Regions from separate parts of the Homo sapiens genome. Here regions 1, 2 and 3 are each linked to region 4. Evidence: promoter capture Hi-C in human tissues and cell types (Jung and others, 2019). All regions are on one chromosome and are shown on one strand. The core of a region is centred on a gene start or on the middle of the fragment in contact, and the rest is flanking DNA. Distances in the headings are between cores, read along the strand shown.

The links. The method cuts DNA at HindIII sites, captures the fragments that hold promoters and counts their contacts. A contact is called where the count stands out against the background at its distance.
Region 1: the fragment with the promoter of ZAP70 here is called in contact with the fragment with the promoter of TMEM131 in region 4 in 1 of the 25 tissues and cell types used here (adrenal gland).
Region 2: a contact is called between a fragment that was not itself captured here and the fragment with the promoter of TMEM131 in region 4, in 2 of the 25 tissues and cell types used here (dorsolateral prefrontal cortex and pancreas).
Region 3: a fragment that was not itself captured here is called in contact with the fragment with the promoter of TMEM131 in region 4 in 1 of the 25 tissues and cell types used here (dorsolateral prefrontal cortex).

What each region holds. Positions count from the first base shown.
Region 1 is chr2:97,712,165-97,715,088 of GRCh38, reverse strand. It overlaps ZAP70 (zeta chain of T cell receptor associated protein kinase 70), which reads right to left and starts at 1,513. Exons shown (of 14, transcript NM_001079.4): 1 at 1,415-1,513; 2 at 1,095-1,173. RefSeq lists an enhancer at 732-1,705. The HindIII fragment of the contact is 22,881 bases long and covers 1-2,924 here.
Region 2 is chr2:98,434,674-98,437,833 of GRCh38, reverse strand. No RefSeq gene overlaps it. Among named protein-coding and RNA genes, the nearest start is that of INPP4A, 8.6 kb to the left of the region's middle. RefSeq lists enhancers at 736-1,479, 1,480-2,224, 1,266-2,465. The HindIII fragment of the contact is 5,831 bases long and covers 1-3,160 here.
Region 3 is chr2:98,451,852-98,454,694 of GRCh38, reverse strand. The region is part of intron 1 of INPP4A (inositol polyphosphate-4-phosphatase type I A); the gene reads right to left. Among named protein-coding and RNA genes, the nearest start is that of INPP4A, 8.4 kb to the right of the region's middle. The HindIII fragment of the contact is 4,237 bases long and covers 1-2,843 here.
Region 4 is chr2:97,994,571-97,997,558 of GRCh38, reverse strand. TMEM131 (transmembrane protein 131) reads left to right here and starts at 1,611. Exons shown (of 41, transcript NM_015348.2): 1 at 1,611-2,083. The coding sequence starts at 1,897. RefSeq lists enhancers at 902-1,181, 1,352-1,865 and silencers at 1,402-1,651, 1,762-2,321. The HindIII fragment of the contact is 13,320 bases long and covers 1-2,988 here.

The sequences.
Region 1 (2,924 bases), core at 264-2,763, 280 kb after region 4:
TAGTGAGGATAATGAGGGTTTTAGTGAGACCTTTCTGCAGCACCTGTATGTGCCGGGCAGTGTGGATACAGTCACTCTCTTTATCCTCCCGAGAGCCCTGGGAGGGAAGCACAGAGAGATGCGGTGACTGGTCCAGTCACACAGCTGGTGAGTGGCAGAGCCAGAATGTGAAGCCAGGCCCCCAGGCTCCAGAGTGTGCACATCAACACCACCCCCGCAACACTGCCAGGGCAGTGGGGCTGAGGATGGAGGGCAGGTGTGAAGAGGAAAAGGAAGCTCTGGATTCAGCAGGAGGCAGCTTCACAGGTGGCACCTTAGGAGTCCCTGACCCTGATCTCTCAGCAAGGCATTATTAAACACCTCCTGTCTGCCTACTGTTCCAACCAAGACGAGAGTAATGAATCATCTCGAGCTGCTCACCTCATGAACTCCTGTTCCTTCCTGTCGGGGATGCTTCCTACCTGGGACACATTTCCCAGCCTCTCGCCAACAGTCAGGAACCAGGCGCCTGCCAGGTGCCCATATCTGCATGTGCATTTAACAGATGCACAAACTGAGGTCAGAGAGGCCAAGCAACTTGCCGAGAACACACAGCAGTTGAGGAGAACTCGGTGTTTTGCTCTTTCTCTCTCCAGGTCTTCCTCTAACCTGAGCTCGCCTACAAGTGGCTCAAGCCTGCCCTGGACTCCTCACAGGAATCACAGCATTCTGCTGATGGAGCTCACGGCCCTGGTGAGCAGCCCCCTCATCTTCACAGAGTGCACATGCGCTTTCTCTGGAGGTTTCTCTGCCTCCGAGAGCCAAGGATGCAGCCAAACAGGGCCCAGCAGGAGCCCAGGGACTGAGCAGGCCTCACCGTGTCCCCTGAACAGCCCCGCTCGGCCAAGCCTCTGGAGGGGGAGCTGCTTCCCTCAGCGTGGCCACAAGCCCCGTCTGCCTCCATCTCCAGCCAGTCACCACCCAGCCCAGTCCTCCAGCTCTCCTGGTCCTCCCAGCAACCTCCTGACTCCCAGTTAATATTCTGTCTTCCTCCTCCAGACACAGCCCACCATGGAGACGGTGGCCAGGTGCCACTCCACCCAGGCACCACTTACCTGGGGACGTACAGGTGGATGTCCAGGCAAACAGGCCACTTGCGGGGTCTCTGGTCCCAATGCCAATGGAGAGCCGGTTCTGGGTGAGGAATCGGGGCTTACAAAGCCGGTTTGGATTTCCCTGCAGCCCAAGCCCCCAGCCTGAGAGGGAGGCCCTGCCGCTCACACTCTCCGCACACACCCCGGGGGAGGATGTCACACCCCGCCAGGGTTTCTCACTCATGGATGGGGGGGGTTCATCCTCTGCCAGGTCTCCCAGAGCCCCCTGGGGTGGCCCTGGTGGCAGGACACAGGCAGAAGGCCCGAGGACAGCCGCTTACCTGAATGCCCCAGCAGCAGCTCTGAGGCCCACGGTGGGCCAGGCCTGCCCGGAAGGCCTGGTGTCTGCTGAGCTCCGGCAAGCAGGCTTGTCTGAAACTAACCTATTTCCTGGATGCGAAGACAGGAAAGGGGGCTGTGTTTGATGTTTACATCAAAGTCACAAAGTGCTGTGCTCAAGGAAAATCACAGGCCACGTGCTCCAGGGAGGCAGAGGGCATTTCCGGGGCCCAGCACTGCCTGCCCAGCTGCAGGATGGGACTGAGAGATGGGAATGAGGCTAAGCAAAGGCAGGGTTTCAGGAAGGACGACTCCAGCAGCAGGAACCGTCAGAAGGGAGGAAGCCTGCATACCTGGAACCGGAGGGTAGGCAGCAGTGGTGGGAAGGAGGGGAGTCCCAGGGCTCATGGAAACTGGAATGCCCCCATTTTCCCCTCAAAGGGGCGTCGCCCTGGGGCCTGCACCAGCTAGACAACCCAGAGGAGTGATTTGTTTATTCCACAGGCAGGTTAGAGCTGGAGGGAGGAGAAACCCACTGAGTCAGCCCATACCCCGAAGGTGAGAACCCCTTCTGTGCCAGGCATCTGGATGGCAAGGACAGCCTGCCCTTGCTCTCCAGTGGCTCGCAGGCTTGTTGGGGGCAGCTGAGTCCACAGGGAGCCAGGGCTGGGAGGCCGGAAGCCTGGGCACTGTGTGTCCCCAGAGTATCCCCAAGCCAGCCTGGAGGATGTCAGGGATGCGTTCCAGGAGGAGTCAGCCACCCAACCGAGACACAGAGCCAGGGCATCCCCAGTGCTAGCCCGGCCCACCTGGGACCTTTCCCACGAAGCTGAACCTGGCTGAGTGCCATCCCGCTGTGGCCACCACCTCCTCCTCCTCTTCCTCTCCTCCCTTCCCTCACCCTGTGCACCCCCTACCCTTGGGCCTGGGGCCACACCTCATGCACTCTCTCAGAGAGGGGCCTGCAGAGCCACTCCCTCGGCTCCATCTCCCCTCTAGTGCCCCAAGGCCTCTGGGAGCCCCTTGCCCACCACCTCCTTGCTTTCTTGGGCACTAAGGGAGTCGTCACAGCTCTCCTGTCTGTGGGGCCTCAGAGACCTGTGTGGAACTGCCCTGGGCCCACTGTGGAGACTCCTAAAGCTTTTCTTCTTGGGGTCCTGCTGCCCTTGTTAAGTGGGCTTGTGATACCCTACCTTGTTTTAACCTGAATTGACTCTCCCTTAGCTAAGAGAGCCAGACAGACTCCATCTTGGCTCTTTCATTTGCAGCCCCTTACCCACCCCGCTTCCTCAAGGACTTAATTTGTGCAAGCTGACTCCCAGCACATCCAAGAATGCAATTAACTGATAAGATACTGTGGCAAGCTATATCCGCAGTTCCCAGGAATTCGCCCGGTTAATAGCACCCAGAGCCCCGGCGTTTGTGTCCGGTTGATAACGCCCAAAGCCCCGTGTCTATCACCTTGTGATAGATTTTAAGCCCCTGCACCTGGAACTGTTTGCTTTCCCGTAA
Region 2 (3,160 bases), core at 294-2,793, 440 kb before region 4:
TAATATAATACAAAACAAACTTAAAACAAAACAAAAATACTACTGACAAACAGAGACATTTTATAATTGTAACAAGTTTAAACTATGAGGAAGAGATAGTAATTATAGACATATATACATCCACAATAGAACCCGAGAATACATGTAGCAAAAACAGAATTGAAGTGAGAAGTGAACATTGTAATAGTAGTAATTGATTATTGCAGTACTCCACTTTAAGTAATGGATAAAATAATGAAGTAAATCTAAAAGGATATATAAAACATTAACAATACCATAAGCCAACTAGATTTAACAAAGTTGTAGAATATTCCACCCAACAATAACAGAACATACCTCATGTTCAACTGTACATGAAATATCCTCTAGGATAGATTATATGGTAGGACTTTTAAAAGCCTAAATAAATAAAAAAGAATTGAAGTCATACAAATTATGTTCTCTGAGCACAATGGAATTAAAACAGAAATCAACAACAGAAGGAAATTTGGGAAATTTACAAGTAAATGGAAATTAAACAACACAGTTCTCGGTAACCAAAGGGTCAAAGAAGAACTCAGAAGGGAAATTAGAAAATATTTTGAGAAAAATTAATGTGAAAACTCAACATACTGTTGCAGAGCATTGCTCCTTAGTTCCCCTAAACTCTGGTTCTTGTCACAAGACCAGGAAAATTTAGGCACACAGACGACACACTGAAGGGTGAGTAGAGCAGGATATTATTGGGCAAAAAAGGAAAAAAAAAAAAAACTCAGCAAAGCAAGACGCAGTCCTGCTAACAGGACTCACAGATTGAATCCCAGGCCACTACACAGGAAAGGAGAGGCCAGGCTCCTCCCCACTGCAAACGGCACAAACTTTCCCTGGCTCCACCCTGTTCTCCCAGTGTGCAGGCCCATGGGAGGTTCTCTGGGGACCTTCCCCCTTATCTGCCTCCTGCATCTATCATTTCCCCCTCTAAAGAAGTACATCTAACTGCTGTTAGAATAAGAATAAGGATCAGGACAAAGGCCGATCTTAACTGCTTCATGCTGACAGGAGGCACTGTTTGAGGAAAACGGCAGTCAGAGCTCCCTCAGAGGCCTATCTAAGGGTCCCTGGCAGAAGGGGCTGTGGTCCAAGGCTCCAGTTGCATGACCGTTTGGAGTTTCACGGCCTGAAGGCAAGAAAAGACAAACTGGGTTATTAGAAAACATATATCAGCCAGGTGCGGTGGCTCATGCCTGTAATCTCAGCACTTTGGGAGGCCAAAGTGGGCGGATCACTTGAGGCCAGGAGTTCAAGACCAGCCTGGCCAACATGGTGAAACCCTGTCTCTACTAAAAATACAAAAATTAGCCAGGTATGGTGGTGGGTGCTTATAATCCCAGCTACTCAGGAGGCTGAGGCAGGAGAATCTCTTGAACCCAGGAGGCAGAGGTTGCAGTGAGCCGAGATCACACCGCTGCACTCCAGCCTGGGCAACAGAACAAGCTTCTGTCTCAGAAAAAAAATTAAAAAGAAGAAGAAAAGAAAGAAAATGTGTATCAAAATGAAATAAGGGTGGGTATTGGGGGAATCTGCCTCCGATAATTCAACGAGGGTCCTTTTCTATTTTCCATAAGTGTCGGCCGGTCTGAGAAATAAAGGGAAAGAGTACAAAAGAGAGAAATTTTAAAGCTGGGTGTCCGGGGGAGACATCACATGTTGGCAGGTTCCGTGATGCCCCCTGAGCCGTAAAACCAGCAAGTTTTTATTAGCAATTTTCAAAAGGGAGGGTGTGTACGAATAGGGTGTGGGTCACAGAGATCACATGCTTCAAGGGTGACAAAAGATCACAAGGCAGAAGGTCAGGGTGAAACTAGAATCACTAATGAACTTCCATGTCCCACTGTGCATGCATTTTCAGGGTTCAAGAGCAGAAAACCGGTCTGACTGGAATTTGCCAGGCTGGAATTTCCTAATCCTAGCAAGCCTGGGCATGCTGCAGGAGACTAGGGTGTGTTTCATCCCTATCTGCATCTGCATAAGGCAGACACTCCTAGGGCAGCCATTGTAGAGGCCCCGCCCTGGGAATGCATTCTTTTCCCAGGGCTGTTAATTATTAATATTCCTTACTGGGGAAAGAATTCAGCGATATTTCTCTTACCCATTTTCAGTAATAAGAGAAATATGGCTCTGTCCTGCCCAGCCCACAGGCAGCCAGACTTTAAGATTATCTCCCTTGTTCCCTGAACATCACTGTTATCCTGTTCTTTTTTCAAGGTGCCCAGATTTCATATTTTTTAAACACACATGCTCTACAAATAATTTGTGCAGTTAACGCAATCATCACAGGGTCTTGAGGCGACATTCATCATCAGCTTATGAAGATGACGGGATTCAGAGATTAAAGTAAAGACAGGCATAGGAAATCACAAGAGTATTGATTGGGAAAGTGATAAATGTCCATGAAATCTTCACAATTTATGTTCTTCTGCCATGGCTTCAGCCGGTCCCTCCATTCGGGGTCCTTGACTTCCTGCAACAGCGGGGGTAAGGGCAGCTCAAAAATCCTGAGGCCTTTTACCAGTTTGCGCAGGGAGGAGACACCAAAAGTCTGACTGCTAAAAAAACTTATACTCTTTTGCCCCATATTAGACTTCTGGGTTCCCTTCCCCTGAGCCCAATCCTAAGCCAACCAGTCTAAGGTTTGGGAAATTAACTCTTCCCAGTTTGGAGGATGCATCTGAAGGGAGCGTCCCATAGTACAGAGATACAATTAACTATCAGTGAACAGGACAAAGGAGGAAAAAGGAGGCATTTTTTCAGAGAAGTCTCAGGGGTTCAGGAAGCACTGCAGAGGAATGGCTACTCATCCAGAAAGAGGGTAGCAGGTGACCCTGGTTCCTTTCTCTTCCTAGCAAATCCCTTGTGTATGTGAGGGAGGAAAAGTTAGGTGTTCCTTTTTCTTTCCTCCATCCTTGTATCCCTGAGTCCCAGCAACTGCCACAGAGTGCCATGCATGGGTGTCAAAATGGCTTTCATCCATGTTAGTGGGAGTTGGGGGTTGGGGGTGGGAATATCCCTATCTCCCCTGCTGTCAGTAGCCCTTGAATTCCCTAGACTTCATTTATGCCATGGATTCTAGCATGACCTTTATCCATGAAACAAGAAGCTTGGCTTAATGGGCAGGAATTAG
Region 3 (2,843 bases), core at 225-2,724, 460 kb before region 4:
TATTTCCCCTGGAAGGTACCCTGAGCAGGAGTCAACAATAGGGTGTACTCCAGCCCTTTGAGCACATGTGAAAAATAAGAGTACTGTGGGGAAAACAGTTACCAAGACTGTCAAGTGGAGCAGGGGTCGAAACATTCATGTTTGCACCGGTCCAGTGCACTGCAGTTCACAGCCCTCTCCTATGTATATTATCAATCCCCACCACCCTCCTGTGAGCCTAGCACCTTCCCCATTTTACAGATGAGAAAGCTGACTTGGGTTCACATCCAGCACTACAATCCAACTTGCCCCTACCCCCAAAAAACAAACACAGACATGCCAAAGCCACTACTACATAAGCTTTGTGATACAAACCAGACTAGCGCCTGCATTAAATAATGGGGATCATAGCTGACTCTAAGCCAGCCTTGGGAACTGTCCTGACAGTGTTAAGGCACAGAGGATTCCAGCGGGGAGTCAAAAGCAGCAATGCTTTCACTGGGGCCAGCCCCAAACAAGGAGACTCTCTCTCTCTCTCTTATGTAGAAATATGCTGATCCACCTGTTAGGTAAAGGACCCATCTGGCATCCAGAGTTAAATTTTTTTTTGAGAGGGAGTTTTGCCCTGTCACCCAGGCTGGAGTGCAGTGATGTGATCTCGGCTCACTGCAACCTCCACCTCCTGGGTTCAAGCGATTCTCCTGCCTCAGCCTCCCAAGTAGCTGGGATTACAGGTGTGCACCACCACACCCAGCTAATTTTTGTATTTTTAGTAGAGACGGGTTTTCACTACGTTGGCCAGGATGGTCTTGAACCCCCGACCTCAGGTGATCAACACACTGCCTGCCACTGTCTCTCCTGTCTGTCAGTGTGGCTGTGCAGAGGACTCCTCATCAGGAGGATTTGGCTCAGATGGCTTACTACCACGAACAATACGCCAGAGCAGGACCAGGCTCAGGACTTTGTGCCTGCTCCTCACGCCCCCAGCTCCACTCCCACTGGCCCTCACCACTGAAAGTCTCCTCTGGTTTTAGGTCATTGGTTCTTGATCTATGGCGAGTCACAGACCACCAGGTTCTGACAAAAGTCACAGGTCGCACGCCCAGGAAAAGACCCCAAGTGTATACACATCCAGCGTAGGCCCCACCTTCCTACAGGTTAGGACCCCCTGCACTCAGCCCTAGGGTTTGACACATCTTTACCAAAATCCACTCTAAGAAACAGTCACACCATAACAACACCCCAAATACACTACATGTGAATAACTAGATGTTTTACCAAAAAATGCTTATCCTTCCCATAGGAAACGTACTTGGATATTTGCTATTTCAAAAAGCTTTTTAATGCCAGTTACAACCTCAAATTGATTTCATGAACCACTGCATTTTGAAACATGCTGTGTGGACCCTTCTCTAGCATGTTTCCTCCTCAGGTGCCCTTCCTTCCGCAATAATTAGTGCTAATGTGGTTAGAGCTCAGTGCAAGACTACTCCTAAACGTTATTTTTATGTATTAAGATGAATCTTTAAAGCTGAAAACCCAGAAATATCTCAACTCTTTAGTTTCAGGAAAAATTCGGAAAAGTGGGTCATTGTGATCTCACAAATTACACCGTGGAGGTGGCTATTTATTTCACCCAAACATCAAGTTGGAGTTGTACTTGCAAAAAAGGGGACATAACACAGGTAAAAATCACCACTGAAAGTAGTCACTTGGGCTGTCTCCAGGCCAATTCCCTAAATATTTCTCAAGCACCTACTAACTGCACTGCTCTTTTTTCCTAGCTGAGCAAGGAGTAGCAGCGTAGGCAACCCCTACACAAATGAACACACTTCAGGAATGGCTTCAGAAGGTGAGTCATAACAGCTCTTTGGGACTCTTCAGCACCAGCCAGGTAGACTCCATCCCTGCTAGGCCAGAGAGGGACCTGGAGCTGGAGTGTTACTGAGGTTGCTTCCTTTAGCACCGAGCTGTACAGGGAGAGTACAGGCCATGCTTGGAGGAGCTGGAGAAGCTTGAGGCAAGGGGGCTGAGAAACTTATATGGGTGGACAAGCTGGCGAATGGGGGGCAGGGGAAGGACTCCGGAGAGCAAAGCGGCCCCCAGGGCCGTAAACACTGGCTAGTTCACACTGTGGGCTGGCCACCCACCATCCTCTCTTCCTTCTTGCTATTCTAGGACCTAACCTCCTCCCCGGTCCTCAGGAAAAGTCAGCCCTGTCTCCAGCTGGGGAGTAGGGGAGTCTTGATTAAACTAAAAGAGCTGTTCTCCAATGTGACCTTGCATCAGAATCACCTGGAAGTCTTCTTAAAGCACAGCTTTCTGGGCCCCATCCCAGAGTTTCTGATTCAGTGGGTGGGGTAGGATCCACTAATCTCCAGTTCTAACAAGTTCTCAGGTAATGCTGATGCTACTGGTCTGAGGACCACACCTGGAGGACCACCAGCCTAAGCCAACCAGCACACAGCACTCTCACAGCCTCATGTTGCTGGTCCAGGGAAGGCCACGTGACCCTTTGCTCCACAGGCCAGAGGGAAGGACTGGTAGACACTGTGGCTGGGGAATCAGCTGCTTTGTCTCCTTCCCTGCTCCTGCTGGACAGGAACAAGGAAGCACGCAGTCCCACTGCCCCCAACGACCATCTCAGAATCATGAGGAGACTAACCCCCTAGGATGAAACCGGCAGTGATGGCTGGACAGAGGAGCAGAATCGAGGTCCTTGATGAAACTGCTGACATGCTGATGGAGACTCCAGTTCTCTGAGATAATAAATGTCACTGTTGGCAACCAAAAGCATCCCAACTGACACACCCCATAATCCAGGGAGAAGCTTGAACTGGGCATCCTTGTTTCCTAGTAGAGCC
Region 4 (2,988 bases), core at 362-2,861:
TACCACGCCCGGCTAATTTTTATATTTTTTAGTAGAGACGGGTTTTCACCATGTTGGCCAGGCTGGTCTCGAACTCCTGACCTCAGGTGATCCGCCCACCTTGGCCTACCAAAGTGCTGGGATTACAGGCGTGAGCCACTGCGCCCTGCCCTAAAATTGCTTTTTAAAATCATTAGGCTAAGGTCATATTTAAATATATATTAATTTATGAATAAATTTAAGTGCTTGCTTGACACAGGGGACTACTTCATAGAGTAGATTCTGGAGTTCCTTTTGTCTTTCTGAAACCTTATTTTCCTATCTAGCTTGTTCTGAGACGTACTGTGGGCAGACTTGGCCTTACACATATATCGACTCACTCAACAAATACAGCTAAGGAAAGTAAAATGTCTCTGGGCTACAAGCTGGGAGGAAGTTACTAAGATGAGTAAAGAAGGACCCCCTCCAAGAGCTTAAATTAAGTCTTGGAGACAACAGCCATGCGCACCAAGAAGCTCAACCTAAGATGAAAAGGGCATCTAAGAGGCGCGAGATGGCTCGTGAAGGTAACAGACGTCTTAAGAATTTTTCCGGGCCCAGCACAGTGGCTCACGCCTGTGATCCCAGCACTCTGGAAGGCCGAGGAAGGCGGACTGCTTGAGCCCAGGAGTTCGAGACCTGCTCGGCCAACATAGTGAGACAGCGTTTCTTAAAAGAAAAAGAAAAATTGGCGTGGCGTGGTGGCGGGTGCCTGTAGTCCCAGACCGCACCACTGCACTCCAGCCTGGGCGGCAGAACCAGACCCTGTCTCAAAAATAAATAAATAATTAAAAAATAAAGAAAAGAAAAAAAAGAATTCTTCCTCGAGAGAGGAAGCCGGCTACTGGATATTCTAAAGAGCAGTCTGTTTGCCCCTGCCTTCTCCATCCAGAGTCACCGACGCTTTCTGCACACGAGGTGTTCCGCGCCAATGTGGGCACAAGCCAAGGCAAGAGGACTCCATCAAGCTCCTCCTGGGTACCATGATTTGGAAGACCCAAGGATGAGTTCAGCGGGCCACCATCCTCAAGGAAGCACCATCAAGAACTGAGTCAGGCCCGGGGTATTCTCGACGTCAAAGCGGTCGAGAGGTGGGGGTGCCACCAGGAAGAGTCACTGGAACGGACCTTCCGCGCTCGTCTCGCGGTCTGTATGCGCACTCACACCCCTGGAAGGCTCTACCACTGTAGGACAGAGCACGGAGGATTGCCCAGGCGCCGGAGAAGAGGTTAGCGCCCCGCAACTCCGCCCCTGCCCCGCCCACGCAACGCGGCGGCTGCGCGGCGAGGCCGCCCCGTCTCCACGTGATTGCCGACACCGCCTCCGCGAAGCAGAAGCCGCCATCATAAGTCCTGGCAGCTGGACCTGGGCCTGCCTCCCTCCTTCTCCTGCGCCAGGTAGCGGTAACGGGCTGGGGTTGTTCTGTCCTGGTTCTGTCTGGCCGTGAAGCCGCAGGCCTCCGAGAGCGGGACGAGGAGGTGGGGCCCAGGGGGCTCCGGGGCGGACAGACTGACCGCCGGACAGCCCAGGTGTCGGCACAGCGTGGGCGGTGCCCAGAGCCGCGCCCCGCCCCTCGCAGGCCAGCGCTCAGGGCTCGCGGGCCGTGCCCGTTTCCAGTATGGCCGCCCGCCGCGCCTGACCCGCGGCCTCTCCGCTCCGACTGCTTGTAGGCGATGCCCAGGCAAAGACCGTGACTGACACTCTCGCTCACACGCACGCACGGACCCAGGCCCACGCTCGGAGATCGAGCCCCGGGCTCGCAACCGTTGTCGCTCCCGGCGCCGCGGCCAGAGCCCGGACCACGGCTTCCGCGCCGCCGCCGCCTCGCCGAGAAGGGCCGCGCCGGACCTCGAGCGCGGCGGCCCCCGGCCGGCAGGGATGGGGAAGCGGGCGGGAGGAGGAGCAACCGGAGCCACCACCGCCGCCGTCTCCACGTCCGCCGGGGCCGGGCTGGAACCTGCGGCCGCCCGTAGCGGGGGCCCGCGGAGCGCGGCCGCCGGCCTCCTAGGCGCGCTGCACCTGGTGATGACCCTCGTAGTGGCTGCGGCGCGGGCCGAGAAGGAAGGTGGGTGTCCCCCGGCGGCGTCCCTGCGGCGGGGCTGTCACCCCGCTCTCGCGGAGGCCGGGAGGGCTGGGCCGGGAGGAAGGGCCGCGGCCGGGGCTCCGGCGCAAAGTTGGGCGGTCGGGTACCGTCCCGAGCCGGGACCTCGCGGCGCCCGCCGCACGGAGTGGCCTTCGCTCTCCGTGATTCCTTCCCGTGCCTTCCCCCGTCTCCTGTCACTGCCATTTCAAAACTTCCTGACTTCTCGTACGTTCTTGCCACTTGGCCCGCTAGGTAGGAGGGGCATATTTTTTGGCTTTATTGCGGCGAATAGGTACATTTTAGGACACTTCTGTTTTCTTGGTTGCGGTTGGTTGCATGCAGACAGAGCTTACTTTAAAATGTGGTAAAAATAGCGAGACACAGCTTAAAAAATTTCACTTTGAATTTGTTCAGACATTTCTTCGAGGGGAAATCTTGGTCCTGTAGCTTCCTCCTTTAGTGTCTCTGCGTTATTGATAACTTTATTATTAGACCTAAATACAATTCCATTTAACTCTTTAGTAAGCTGTTGAAAGCCTGTTTACATTTCTTATTTTAAAATACGTGATTCGGTGCCTTTATCTTTGATGTGAAAGCCTTTAAAAATAAACGTGAAGTTGCCAGCTTGCAAGCATTTATCTATAATTTACAGTTAAGGGCTGGCCCCTATTTTAAAAATCTCATTAGTATTGTACTGCTGCAAAACGGGTACTTGGACAGGGTCAAAAATTATTTTGTAATCTTGAAGACCAAATCAGTGTAATTTCATCTACACTACCTCTTTTTGAGCCAAGGGACATGTGAATGGTCACAGAGCCTTCATGAAGAATTGACTAAGTGAATAGTTTAAAAAAAAAACAAACCACGCAAAACTTGTTAGTTTAGCA